Regions from separate parts of the Homo sapiens genome. Here region 1 is linked to region 2. The links are contacts of gene promoters, found by promoter capture Hi-C in human tissues and cell types (Jung and others, 2019). All regions are on one chromosome and are shown on one strand. The core of a region is centred on a gene start or on the middle of the fragment in contact, and the rest is flanking DNA. Distances in the headings are between cores, read along the strand shown. Region 1 overlaps MMP24-AS1-EDEM2 (MMP24-AS1-EDEM2 readthrough). Region 2 holds the start of DYNLRB1 (dynein light chain roadblock-type 1).

The links. Contacts are between HindIII fragments. The study calls those that stand out against the background at their distance.
Region 1: a fragment that was not itself captured here is called in contact with the fragment with the promoter of DYNLRB1 in region 2 in 1 of the 25 tissues and cell types used here (lymphoblastoid cells).

The regions. Positions count from the first base shown.
Region 1 is chr20:35,266,054-35,272,316 of GRCh38, forward strand. It overlaps MMP24-AS1-EDEM2 (MMP24-AS1-EDEM2 readthrough), which reads right to left. Exons shown (of 15, transcript NM_001355008.2): 2 at 5,952-6,092. MMP24 (matrix metallopeptidase 24) reads left to right here. Exons shown (of 9, transcript NM_006690.4): 6 at 1,152-1,366; 7 at 3,707-3,845; 8 at 5,516-5,782. Among named protein-coding and RNA genes, the nearest start is that of MMP24-AS1-EDEM2, 8.9 kb to the right of the region's middle. The HindIII fragment of the contact is 9,806 bases long and covers 1-6,153 here.
Region 2 is chr20:34,514,893-34,520,446 of GRCh38, forward strand. It overlaps DYNLRB1 (dynein light chain roadblock-type 1), which reads left to right and starts at 1,530. Exons shown (of 4, transcript NM_014183.4): 1 at 1,530-1,569. The coding sequence starts at 1,567. RefSeq lists enhancers at 552-611, 722-961, 1,350-2,215, 1,882-2,061 and a silencer at 1,422-1,531. The HindIII fragment of the contact is 11,693 bases long and covers 1-2,802 here.

The DNA.
Region 1 (6,263 bases), core at 1-2,500, 750 kb after region 2:
GGTATTGGGCGTGGTGGCTCACGCCTGTAATCCCAGCACTTTGGGAGGCCAAGGTGGGTGGATCACTTGAGGTCAGGAGTTCAAGACCAGCCTGGTCAACATGGTGAAACCCCATCTCTGCTAAAAAAAAAAAAAAAAAAAAAAAAAAATCACCTGGGTGTGGTGGTACGTGCCTGTAGTCCCAGCTACTTGGGAGGATGAGGCAGGAGAATCACTTGAACCTGGGAGGCAGAGGTTGCAGTGAGCTTAGATCACGCCACTGCACTCCAGCATGGGGGACGGAGCGAGACTCCTTCTCAAAAAAAAAAAAAAAAAAAAAAAAGTTGGAGAGCTGGCCTGGTGCTTCCTGAACATCCAGTTTGAAAAGCTCCCAAAGGTGATCCTAATATGCAGCCCAAGTGAAGAAGCACTGACCTAAGGATGAAAATGTAGAGACGGAAGAGAAGAGGACCCAAGGGCACGCCAGCCTCTAGAGTAGGGCAGATGAGGACACGCAGCCAGCAAAGGAGACTGAGAAAGAACAGCCCATGAGGCAGGAGGACAACCAAGAGAGTGTTTCCAGGAAAGTGTTTCTATGAATCTTGCTGCTCAAAATGTAGTCTTCAGACCAGCAGCATCAGCATCACCTGAGAGTGTGAAGGAATGCAAACTCTCAGGCCCCACCCCAGGCCCTCTGAGCCCTCATCTGCATTTTAGCAACATCCCCAGATGATGCATGTGCTTATTAAAGTCTGAGTCAAGTAACCATTGGATGATCTTGGCAGAGCAGTTGGAGTGGGTGACGGGTAGAAGCTGCACTGGGGTGGGAAAGAGAATAAATGAAGGGGGTGAGGAAGTGGGGCCAGTGCGTGTGAAGGGGGCAAAGAGGGTATGGCCTAAGGAAGAGCGCTGACCCTAAGGAAGGACATGATTGCTCTGTAACAGGAGAGAGAAAAGAGAAGATACCAGATTCGGGGATGGAAAGATGAGAGTCCCATTCTAATGGCTATTTTCATCCATTTTCTCAAAGACTGGGGGAGTTAAACTGGGGAGAGGGAACAGGAGGCTGAACTGGGACAGACTTGTCTCAGAGCTGCCTGGGTGATGCTGAGACTGGCAATGGGAGGCGGGAAACGGCTGCCCCCTCTCTAAGATGCAGCTCCTCTCTCCAGGACCCCCAGCCGAGCCTCTGGAGCCCACAAGGCCACTCCCTACACTCCCCGTCCGCAGGATCCACTCACCATCGGAGAGGAAACACGAGCGCCAGCCCAGGCCCCCTCGGCCGCCCCTCGGGGACCGGCCATCCACACCAGGCACCAAACCCAACATCTGTGACGGCAACTTCAACACAGTGGCCCTCTTCCGGGGCGAGATGTTTGTCTTTAAGGTAGGGCCAATGGATTGGCACCACCCAGCTGGCCCCTGACCTTTCCTCCTCCTCCCCGACATCATGGAGCTGGGGAAGGCTCCTGATTTGGGATTCGATTACAATGGGGCCTGGACAGGAGCTAGCCCAGTGGCCAGGGCATGGGGTCTCTTCCTAGTGCTGCTGGGTGAATCAACTGTTCCCAAGAGGGAGGGGGAAAGATGGGTGATCCCTCACCTCCCCTGGGGTTAATGCTGGGAGAAAGTGCTGGAAGCTGGCTTCTGGTCTGTGACCACCCTTCTTGGGACCTCAGTTTCTCCATCCGAAACCTGGGGGAGTCATTCCTCTAACAAAGAGTGTGTGAAGATCCAGTGAGTACCCGGCTCTGAAGATGGTCAACTTGGAGTAGGGGCTAGGTCAGTGGTGGCTGAGTCTGACTCCAGACCCTACCAAGGCTTGAGGGGCTGCTACTGGCAGCAGCCCAGGGTATATCTTGTCATCTGTCCTCCATCAGCCATGGACTGACAGGGTGGCAGTCTGCTTGACGTGTTGCAGGTTGGGCTCTCGGGGAGTGAACTCTGAGGTGGGGTCTGGAATGCAGGATTTCGATTAGAGAGTACTTTCAGAATCAACATTTGTGAGGGGGAGAAGGAAGCAGGACAGGGAAGAGGGAGAGGTTAAGTGGCAACAGAGGCCCATGGCAGCCTCAGCCACCCCCGCAGGGAGCTCTGGGGCTACGGTGGCCTGTCACTCAGCCTACGTTGGGTCCAAAATATCTGGAACATTATAACCCCTACCTCATTCAATCACTGGATGAGGAAGGGCATCCAGTGACTGAGGAGAGCTCTCTGAAGCAGGGAACATCCCCAAAGGGGCTGACAGTTGAAAACTGCCTGCTGGCCACACTGCTGGCCACTGGGGCAACAAGCCCTTCTCTGAAGGGGATCTGGGCAGGGTGGCTCCATCACACAGGATGGTGAAAGAGGCTGCCTCGCTCCCCTTGTGGAGTTCTCCCAGCACGCACTGAGCACTGCGCAGGAATCGGGCAGCGTGAGTCAGCCCCAGTCTGGCTTCTCACTGAGTGGCTCTAGGCAAGTCACCTGGCCTTTCTTAAGACTCCGTATATCTCAGATCAACTTAACAGAGACATGAAAGTCAAAATAAGGTCAAAAACCTGGATGTGAAAGTGCTTTGTAAAACACCTTTTAAAATACTAGCTTTTGTACCATCTTTTACAAATCATGCTTCTTCTTCTGCACTCATTCTACTTTGATCCAACTGAACCGTTCATAGGCAGGTCCGGGTTTTATCATCCCCATTTACACATAAGAAAACTGAGGCCTGGAGGCTGGGCGCAGTGGCTCACGCCTTGCAATCCCAACACTTTGGGAGGCCAAGGAGGGCGGATCATAAGGTCAGGAGATCAAGACCATCCTGGCTAACATGGTGAAACCCCATCTCTACTAAAAATATAAAAAATTAGCCGGGTGTGGTGGCGGGCGCCTGTAGTCCCAGCTACTCAGGAGGCTGAGGCAGGAGAATAGCATGAACCTGGGAGGCGGAGCTTGCAGTGAGCCGAGATTGCGCCACTGCACTCCAGCCTGGGTGACAGAGCGAGACTCCATCTAAAAAAAAAAAAAAAGAAAGAAAACTGAGGCCTGGAGGCTACAGGCCTTGCCTAGACTGCTTGTGTACCAGCCCAAGACTGAGGCACCAGTTACAAGAGGCGTTTTTACTGGACTCGGACTATTTAGCTGCCATTTACTCAACATGGACTGTGTGCCCCGTACTGGTCTGGGCATTTTGCCTAGAATCTCTCATCTGATTCTCCATTATTACCTGCACTTGCAGGTGAGGCCTAGGTCATGCAGCTATAAATGGAGGAATGTGAATTCATGCCCAGGTCTCGAGGGAATTCCCATGACTTGGCTTCCATGATCCTGGCCCTGCTGGATGGAGCCAGCCTCATGGAGGGCGCTCGGCCCAGGCTCAGTGACCACCCCAGCCTCCCACTGTCCCGAGGACCAGTCTGGCTGATGTCAGTGACGCTCCACTGCCCCCATGTGGCCACTCCAGGCCCCAACATCATCCTTTCCGGCTCCCTCACACCTCCTTTTCCACACCAGGCCTGTCTGCTGTTTGTCTCATTGTCCACCCAGCAGCAAGAGTCAGCAGGAGGCTGAATTGAAGACAGTTACAGGAGCATCCTGTCTTCCTCCCAGGGCTTTAAAAGTCAGAAGCAGCTAATGGACAGTCTCGGTGGAGGGCTGGGCTGTTGGGACCTAAGCCCCACAGCTGCAATCACTGGGTTCGGAGGCAGGGCCTGACACACCTCTCTCCCCCTCTCCCGCTTCCTCCCAGGATCGCTGGTTCTGGCGTCTGCGCAATAACCGAGTGCAGGAGGGCTACCCCATGCAGATCGAGCAGTTCTGGAAGGGCCTGCCTGCCCGCATCGACGCAGCCTATGAAAGGGCCGATGGGAGATTTGTCTTCTTCAAAGGTAATGTAGACTGTGCTGTGGGACAGTTCCCTGCCCAAGGTCTTGGGACCTCCTTTTTCCCATCTAAACTGGAAGAGGCGGGGTGGGAGGCAGATGTCCTCAGAGGGCCCCTCTAGTCTAACGGAGACACTGACCTCTGACAAATCAAGTCAGAAAGTGAGACTGAGAATCTGTATGTGCCGAGATTGGTGGGGTGACCAGCTTCGTCCACATGAAGTAGAGTGTGGGACAAGCAATTGAAGACCACCCAGTACCTCATGGGAGGCCATCGGGTCAGTTCTGTAAGAACCCAGAGGGAAGAGGTCACTCAAGCTGGGGAGGTCGGGGGAGGGTGTGGGAGGGAGCTAAGGTGCCCACCCTGTACCCAGCACTGTGCTAGGTTGTTTCATGACAGTTATCTTGACTCGGGCCAGACCTCAGATGGGTGAGATACAGATAGTGAGAAGCAAGGAAGGCATTCCAGAGGGACAACGGCTGAATAAAGGAGCAGGGCTGGGATGTGTACGGACGGCCACAGGGCTTAGAAGGCCCACCTGATGGCCACGGAGGCCCCGCCTTGGAAAGCTGTGAGAAATGGCCCAGAAAGGTCATTTGGAGGCAAATCCTGAAGAGCCCTGGCTGCCAGGCCAGAATGTGGTCTTGATCCATTAGGCCAAGGCTGGAAATTCATGGAATGTTTCCGAGCAGCAGAGAGCCAGAGGGCAGGAGGTGACAGACATGGCAGGGGCAGGGCAGCCATTTCTGAGGTGGTTCTGGAGCGCGCCACTCATGAGGCCCAAATGAGGGAGGAGCCGTGCAGCTGAAGGGCAGGGGACAGCTGCCAGGAGAGTCAGAGGGCCTCAGAAGTGGCTGAATACTCGGCCAGGCGCAGTGGCTCACGCCCGAAATCCCAGCACTTTGGGAGGCCAAGGCTGGCAGATCACCTGAGGTCAGGAGTTTGAGACCAGCCTGACCAACATGGTGAAACCACGTCTCTACTAAAATTACAAAAACTAGCCAAGCATGGTGGCACGTGCCTGTAATCCTAGCTACTCAGGAGGCTGAGGCAGGAGAATCGCTTGAACCCAGGAAGTGGAGGTTGTGGTGAGCTGAGATCACACCATTGCACTCCAGCCTGGGCAACAAGAGCCAAACTCCATCTTAAAAAAAAGAAGTGGCTGAATACTGAGAGGAGAAGGAAAGAGAGGGTCAACAGTGAGGCTAGGACTCCCTGTTGGGGACCTGGGAGGCAGAAGGTGATGAGGAGGGAGCCCCTCTGTGGTGCAGATGAGGAGCTCTGGGGAGCCAGCCAATGCAGAGCTGCCGGTAGGCCGAGGGAGGTCAGGGTTTCTGGCTCTGCTGCTCAGGTCCAGTGGGAGAGCCTCAGAGTCGGGTGTCACTGGTAGCAGGTTTGGGGAGTGGTAGTGCATATGCAAAGTCATGTAAGTGGCTGAGATCACCAGAGAGGAGAGAGGAGCAAGTCACATGAACAAAAGAGGGTGGGACTCGGAGCCCAGGCAGCAGAGGCAAGTTGTCCAGGATCTGTGACTGGCCTCAGGCTTCGTGCCCTTCCCAACTCTAACTGGGCCAAGGGGCTGAGGGCATCAGACTGTTTTCACCTGACACCCTGAAGATGGGCAAACGGCACTGAGTGACTGGGGAAGCTGATCCTGGGCTCCTCTTGGCCACAGGTGACAAGTATTGGGTGTTTAAGGAGGTGACGGTGGAGCCTGGGTACCCCCACAGCCTGGGGGAGCTGGGCAGCTGTTTGCCCCGTGAAGGCATTGACACAGCTCTGCGCTGGGAACCTGTGGGCAAGACCTACTTTTTCAAAGGCGAGCGGTACTGGCGCTACAGCGAGGAGCGGCGGGCCACGGACCCTGGCTACCCTAAGCCCATCACCGTGTGGAAGGGCATCCCACAGGCTCCCCAAGGAGCCTTCATCAGCAAGGAAGGATGTACGTAAGGGCCGGGCCAGGGTGGGCATGGGGAGCCGGTTTTATGTGGTCCTCACCAGTGCCCACGGGCATACTCAGTGCCCATGGGCGTCCAGGTTTGAAAAAACACCTGGTGGCAGACAACTGCCTCATATCTACCCATGTTCACGTGGTCCATTAATTCACTTACCAGCTGCCAAGTCACACTTTTTCATCTGCAGGAATGATTCACGGCAGAGAGACGTTGTCATAGACTGACTTCATTCCTTCAGACAGCATTTCTCAAACACTTATCCTCAGTGTACTCCAGGGACGCCTTGAGTTACCCAATCTGAAAAGCAATGATGGGCATGCATGTTTCAAAGCCACTTTTTCACAGGGCTCGAGGGCAAGAAGATGGAAAGAAAACCTTCAAAAAAAATTTTTTTTTAAATTCTAAGAGATAAGGTCTCACTCTGTCGCCTAGGCTGGAATGCTGTGGCATGATCATAGCTCACTGCAG
Region 2 (5,554 bases), core at 280-2,779:
AGTTCCGCATTCATTCCTTGCTTTCATGACTTTGAGATTTTGGGGGGCGGGGGCGGGGTACAGGTATCTTGTAGAACATCCCTCACACTGGATTTAGTGAAATTTTCTCATGGTTTAAGGCTGGGAGTTTTTGTGGAAAATGACTCGGAGGTGATGTGCCCTTAACGCATTTTTATCGGGGCACACGGCATCAATATCTCCCCTTGCCAGTAATACTAACTTTGATCTGGTTACGGTGGTGTCTGCTAGGTTTCTTCGCAGTAAAGTCAATCCTCTTAACATGCAGACACTCCTGGAAGGAGAACCAAATCCTTCCTCACTGAAGAGCAGCTACTGTGGAATGAAACTTTGGAGTTAGATCATCGTTGAATCCAGCAAGCTACAGTGCCTGGGAGAAACAGCATTTATAAAGTATCGAGGTTACCGATACTTCCCTGAAGCTACCGGAGATAACGTTATGTGCGTGTTCAGCACAGTAATGTGGCACAGGGTTCACTAAACGGCAGCATGTTTTAACAGAAGTTATTTACTCCTAGAGGACCCAGAAACGTTTGCGGCCTGCCGGAACAGGACAACATAGGGCTCTGGGAAGAGTCCCCCTTTCAGAGGTGAGAACAAGACAGAACACACAGATGTGAAGTGCCTTCTGCTAGGTAACGCGAGGCGGGGCTGAGCTCGGATTCTAAAGACTCCCAGGCCAGCCCTAACCAATTCATCTCCGAGCTTGCACGGCATCTTACCCGGAGACTCGAGGTACCTGACTCCAGCCCCACCCCAGGCCTGCCCGATCCCGAAGCGCATTTTGGCCCTGGGCCTCTCTCTGGCTCAGTCTGGGCGCAAAGCGGGTCTCAGCAACCGTCCCACTTGCCTTCATACCCTCCCACCACGCTCCACTCAGGGACTCCAGAACCAGCTTAGACCTCCATTGAGAGCTGAAAGCCTCTTCCGATACCGAGAACCAGCACTGAAAGCCTCTTCCGATACCGAGAACCAGCATGGTTTTTGTTTTGTTTTGTTTTAGTCAGGGTCTCTTGCTCTGTCGCCCAGGCTGGGGTGCAGTGGCGCAATCTCGGCTCACTGCAGCCTCGAACTCCTGGTCAGGCGATCCTCCTACCTCAGCCTCTGGAGTAACTGGAACTACACGAGCGCGCCACCACGCCCGGCTAATTTTGTTTATTTTTTAGTAGAGAAGGGGTCTCTCCATGTTGCCCAGGCTGGTCTCGAACTCTTGGGCTCAAGCAATCCTTCCGACTCGGCCTCCCAAAGTGCTGGAATTACAGGCGTAAGCCACCGCGTCCAGCCAGAACCAGCATCTTTTCTGCACGGCTGGAGTTGGGAATTTTCCACAGCTTAGCGCACTGCTCCTTAGCTTTTCGCTTTGCCACAGTGGAAAGCAGATTTTCCAAGAATCCTGGCGGAGCCAAGATCGGCTCGCCCGCCCCCGCCTCACGCTGGCTCCTGATAGGCAGCTAGAGCTGTCCGTTTTGACAGAAACCTTTGCGCAGGCGCAGAAAGGCACAGGACTCGCTAAGTGTTCGCTACGCGGGGCTACCGGATCGGTCGGAAATGGTGAGCGTGCGCCGGGGTCTTGTGGCTGGCGGCCGCCCACCACCCCACGCCAGGCCTTCAGTCTTCCGAGGATGAGGGGATCTCAGAGCTCCGGACAGGGAATCGGTGGTGGCTGGGCGTGGCCGGGCCCGGGCCCCAGCCGACTTGAGGGTGGAACCCGGCGGCGGAGGCCTCTAAAGCCTGACCGAGGCGGGGCCGCCGGATCCCGCTGCCCCTTGACCGGAAGCGGGAGCCCAGCCTCGGCCAGGAAGAGATGATGGGCGAGGGGTGGGCGGCGGCCCTGCAGCCTAGAGTTTTGGGGCCTTGGTGCGCGATGGCAACCCTGGCAACGTTTCCCGGGAGCTCAGTTTGTGGCAGGCTCTGCCAAGCACTTTATGTATCTTGTATTTCCTCCGCCTCCTCCCAGCTCTGTGAGGTAGATACAATCTTTAGTCCCATTTTGTTATACATATCTGTTATTCAGCGCCCCGAGAAGCCAAGTGCTTTGCCCCAGGAAATAGTGGAGATGGATTTGAACCCTAGAAGCTTGACGGCCGCCACTCTGTCGGCGTGGTTCTTTCTAGCCGCTGGGACTGGGTGCCAGAGTCAGGAACGGGCGGGGTCTGCTCTTGGGGATCCCAAAGCTTGCTTTCTACCTTGCTTGCTGCAGCTGTGGGTTCTCAACGCCGTTACAGGTTTTGTGTTTGTAATCCTCACAGCTTGGGCAAAATTTGAAAAAGTTTCAAATTTTAAGCCATGTGAATATATTACTTTTTCAAAAATCTTATTTAGAAATCTAGAGCTTGTAATAAAAAAATTGAAAAAAGAAACCGTGTCATCACCTAGAGGCAACCACTTACAGTAGTCATATGACTTCTAGTCTTTTTTGCTTGTTTTTGGTTTATACAGTTTAGCCCCTATTGAATGTGCAATTGTGGGTTCTGTGTTTTTCATTATTACACCACAATATCTCCACATCATTACAAACATGTAATAATGCTTCAAATATGTATAACTTCATTTTTCACATCACTTCTTAAGCTGTAAAAAAAATTGATATATAATAGTTGTACACATTTATGTTGTAGATATACATGTAATATTTTGATACATGCATATGATGTGTAATGATCAAATCAGGCTATATTTATTATAGAATATCCATCACCTTAAACATTCATTATTTCTTTTTTTTTTTTTTTTTTTGAGATGGAGTGTGTCTCTGTCGCTCAGGCTGGAGTGCAGTGGCACCATCTTAGTTCACTGCCACCTCCGCCTCCCAGGTTCAAGTGATTCTCCCGCCTCAGCCTCCCGAGTAGCTGGGACTACAGGCGCCCACCACCACGCCCAGCTAATTTTTTGTATTTTTAGTAGAGACGGGGTTTCACCGTGTTAGTCCGCCTCAACACGGTGGTCTCGATCTCCTGACCTCGTGATCTGCTCGCCTCAGCCTCCCAAAGTGCTGGGATTACAGGCGTGAGCCACCACGCCTGGCCCACATTTTCTTTATCCATTTACCTATTGATGGACGCTAATTCCATAATTTAGCTATTATGAATAGTGCTGCAATATGAACATGAGGATGTAGGGATGCCTTTGATGTACTAATTTCCGTTCCTTTGAATAAATACCCAGTAGTGGTATTGCTGATTTATGGTAGGTTTTTTTTTTCGTTTTTGTTGTTGTTTTTGTTTTGTTTTGTTTTTTCGATGCCTTTGTCGAAAATCAGTTGGCCGTAAATAAGTGGATTTATTTCTGGGTCCTCTATTCTATTCCATTGGTCTGTGTTTTATACCAATACCATGCTCTTTTGGTTACTATACCTTTCTGGTATATTTTGAAATCAGGTAGTGTGATACCTCAAGCTTTGTTCTTTTCGTCCAGGCTTCTTTTGGCTTTTCTGAGTCTTTTGTGGTTCCATACGAATTTTAGGATTGTTTACAGGTAATACTTGCACACAGTAAAAAAATAAATGATGTAAAAGGATCTAAGTGAAAAATAAAATTCCCACTCTCCTAACCCCCAGTCTCAGTCTCTCCTCCTTTAGAAACAACCATTGTTAGTTTCTTTTTTTTTTTTTCTTGCAAACTTGACCCTCCTGGGCTCAAGTGATCCTCCTGCCTTAATTCCCCAAGTATCTGGGACTACTGGTGCACGCCACCACACCCTGCTAATTTTTTTGTATTTTTTTTTTGTAGAGTTGGGGTTTTGCCATGTTGCCCAGGCTGGTCTTGAACTCCTGGGCTCAAGTGATTCACCCACGTTGGCCTCCCAAAGTGTTAGGATTACAGGCGTGAGCCACCACACCCAGCTGTTAGTTTCTTATGCATCTATACAAGCACTTATATGGCCCCCCTTTTTCTTACTTAAACTGTAGCTTTCTAGAACCTGTATTATGCTACTCCGTGGTTATACTCATAAAAGCAATGCAAATTTAGATGCCTAGTTTAACTTTTTTTTTTTTTCTTTTGAAACAGAGTCTTGCCCTTTCGCCCAGGCTGGAGTGCAGTGGTGTGATCTGAGCTCACTGCAACCTCTGCCTCCCGGGTTCGAGTGATTCTCCTGCCTCAGCCTCCGGAGTAGCTGGGACTGCAGGAGCATGCCACCATGCCTGGCTAATTTTTCTATTTTTGGTAGAGACAGGGTTTTTTTTCTATTTTTAGTAGAGACAGGGTTTCACCATGTTGACCAGGCTGGTCTCAAACTCATGACCTCAGGTGATCCGCCCACCTCCGCCTCCAAAAATGCTGGGATTATGGGCGTAAACCACCATGTATGTTAACAATTTGAAGCAGTACCAGAGGATATAATATAGAAAGTTTATGTGGTCCCCATCTTACTACCCCGTGGCAACTTCTGTTGGCAGTTGGGTGTGTTTCCTTCCAGATGTGTTTGGTGCATAAGCACATTTATGTATAAGCTGTTTATTAGATGAAACTGGAATATATATATATTTGTATATGTTAACTTTACTTTAAGGCTGAAGTGGAGAGATCGCCTGAGCCCAGGAGGTCAAGGCTACAGTGAGCCGTGACTGCACCACTGCACTCCACCCTGGGTGAGAAAAAAATAAGAGAAAACAGAAGTTGACTTTAAGATATATATGTATATATCTTATTCTGCAACTTGTTCTGTTCACTTAAAAATATCACACATTTTTCTGTGTTATTATATGCAGGTCCACTTCATTCTTTTTAAGGTCTGTATCGTATCCTAGTCCCATATGTACATTTAGGTGGTGTATAGTTTTTTTATTCCAGACACTGCTGCAGTAACTGTTCTTGTCTTTTTTGCACTCATGCTAGTGGTTATGTAGGATAGATTTCTACAAGTGGCACTTTTGGCTTGCATATTTTACATTTTAGGTGGAAACTGACCTTTAGAATAATGATATAAAAATCATCTATAATTGGCCGGACACAATGGCTGACGCATATAATCCCAGCACTTTGGGAGGCCAAGGTGGGCAGATCACTTGAGGTCAGGAGTTGGAGACCAGCCTGGGCAACATGGTGAAACTCTGTCTCTACTAAAAATACGAAAAGTAGCCGGAAGCCGTGCATCTGTAATTCCAGCTGCTCAGGAGGCTGAGGCACTAGAATCGCTTGAACCCGGGAGGCGGGGGTTGCAGTGATCCGAGACCAGGCCAGTGCACTCCAGCCTGGGCAACAGAGCAAGACTCTGTCTCAAAATAAATAAATAAAATTAAAAAATAATCACATATAATTCTCCTCGTCCAGTTTCACTGTGCCACATAACTATTTTCATCTTTGTATGTTCTCCTTCCTCTTTTGTTCACATATGCATATTTTCCAAGATAATGCATGCTGAGTTTTGGGGGGATTTTTTTCTTTTTTTGTTGTTTTAATATCCAAAAACATTTAACCTTGTTGTCATATCATCTTTGTGATTAACTACTTAGTGACTACATAATACTCGGTGAAATAGTTGTACCATAATTGGCCAAATATCTTACCTGTGTACATTTGGGTTGCTCCCATTTCTT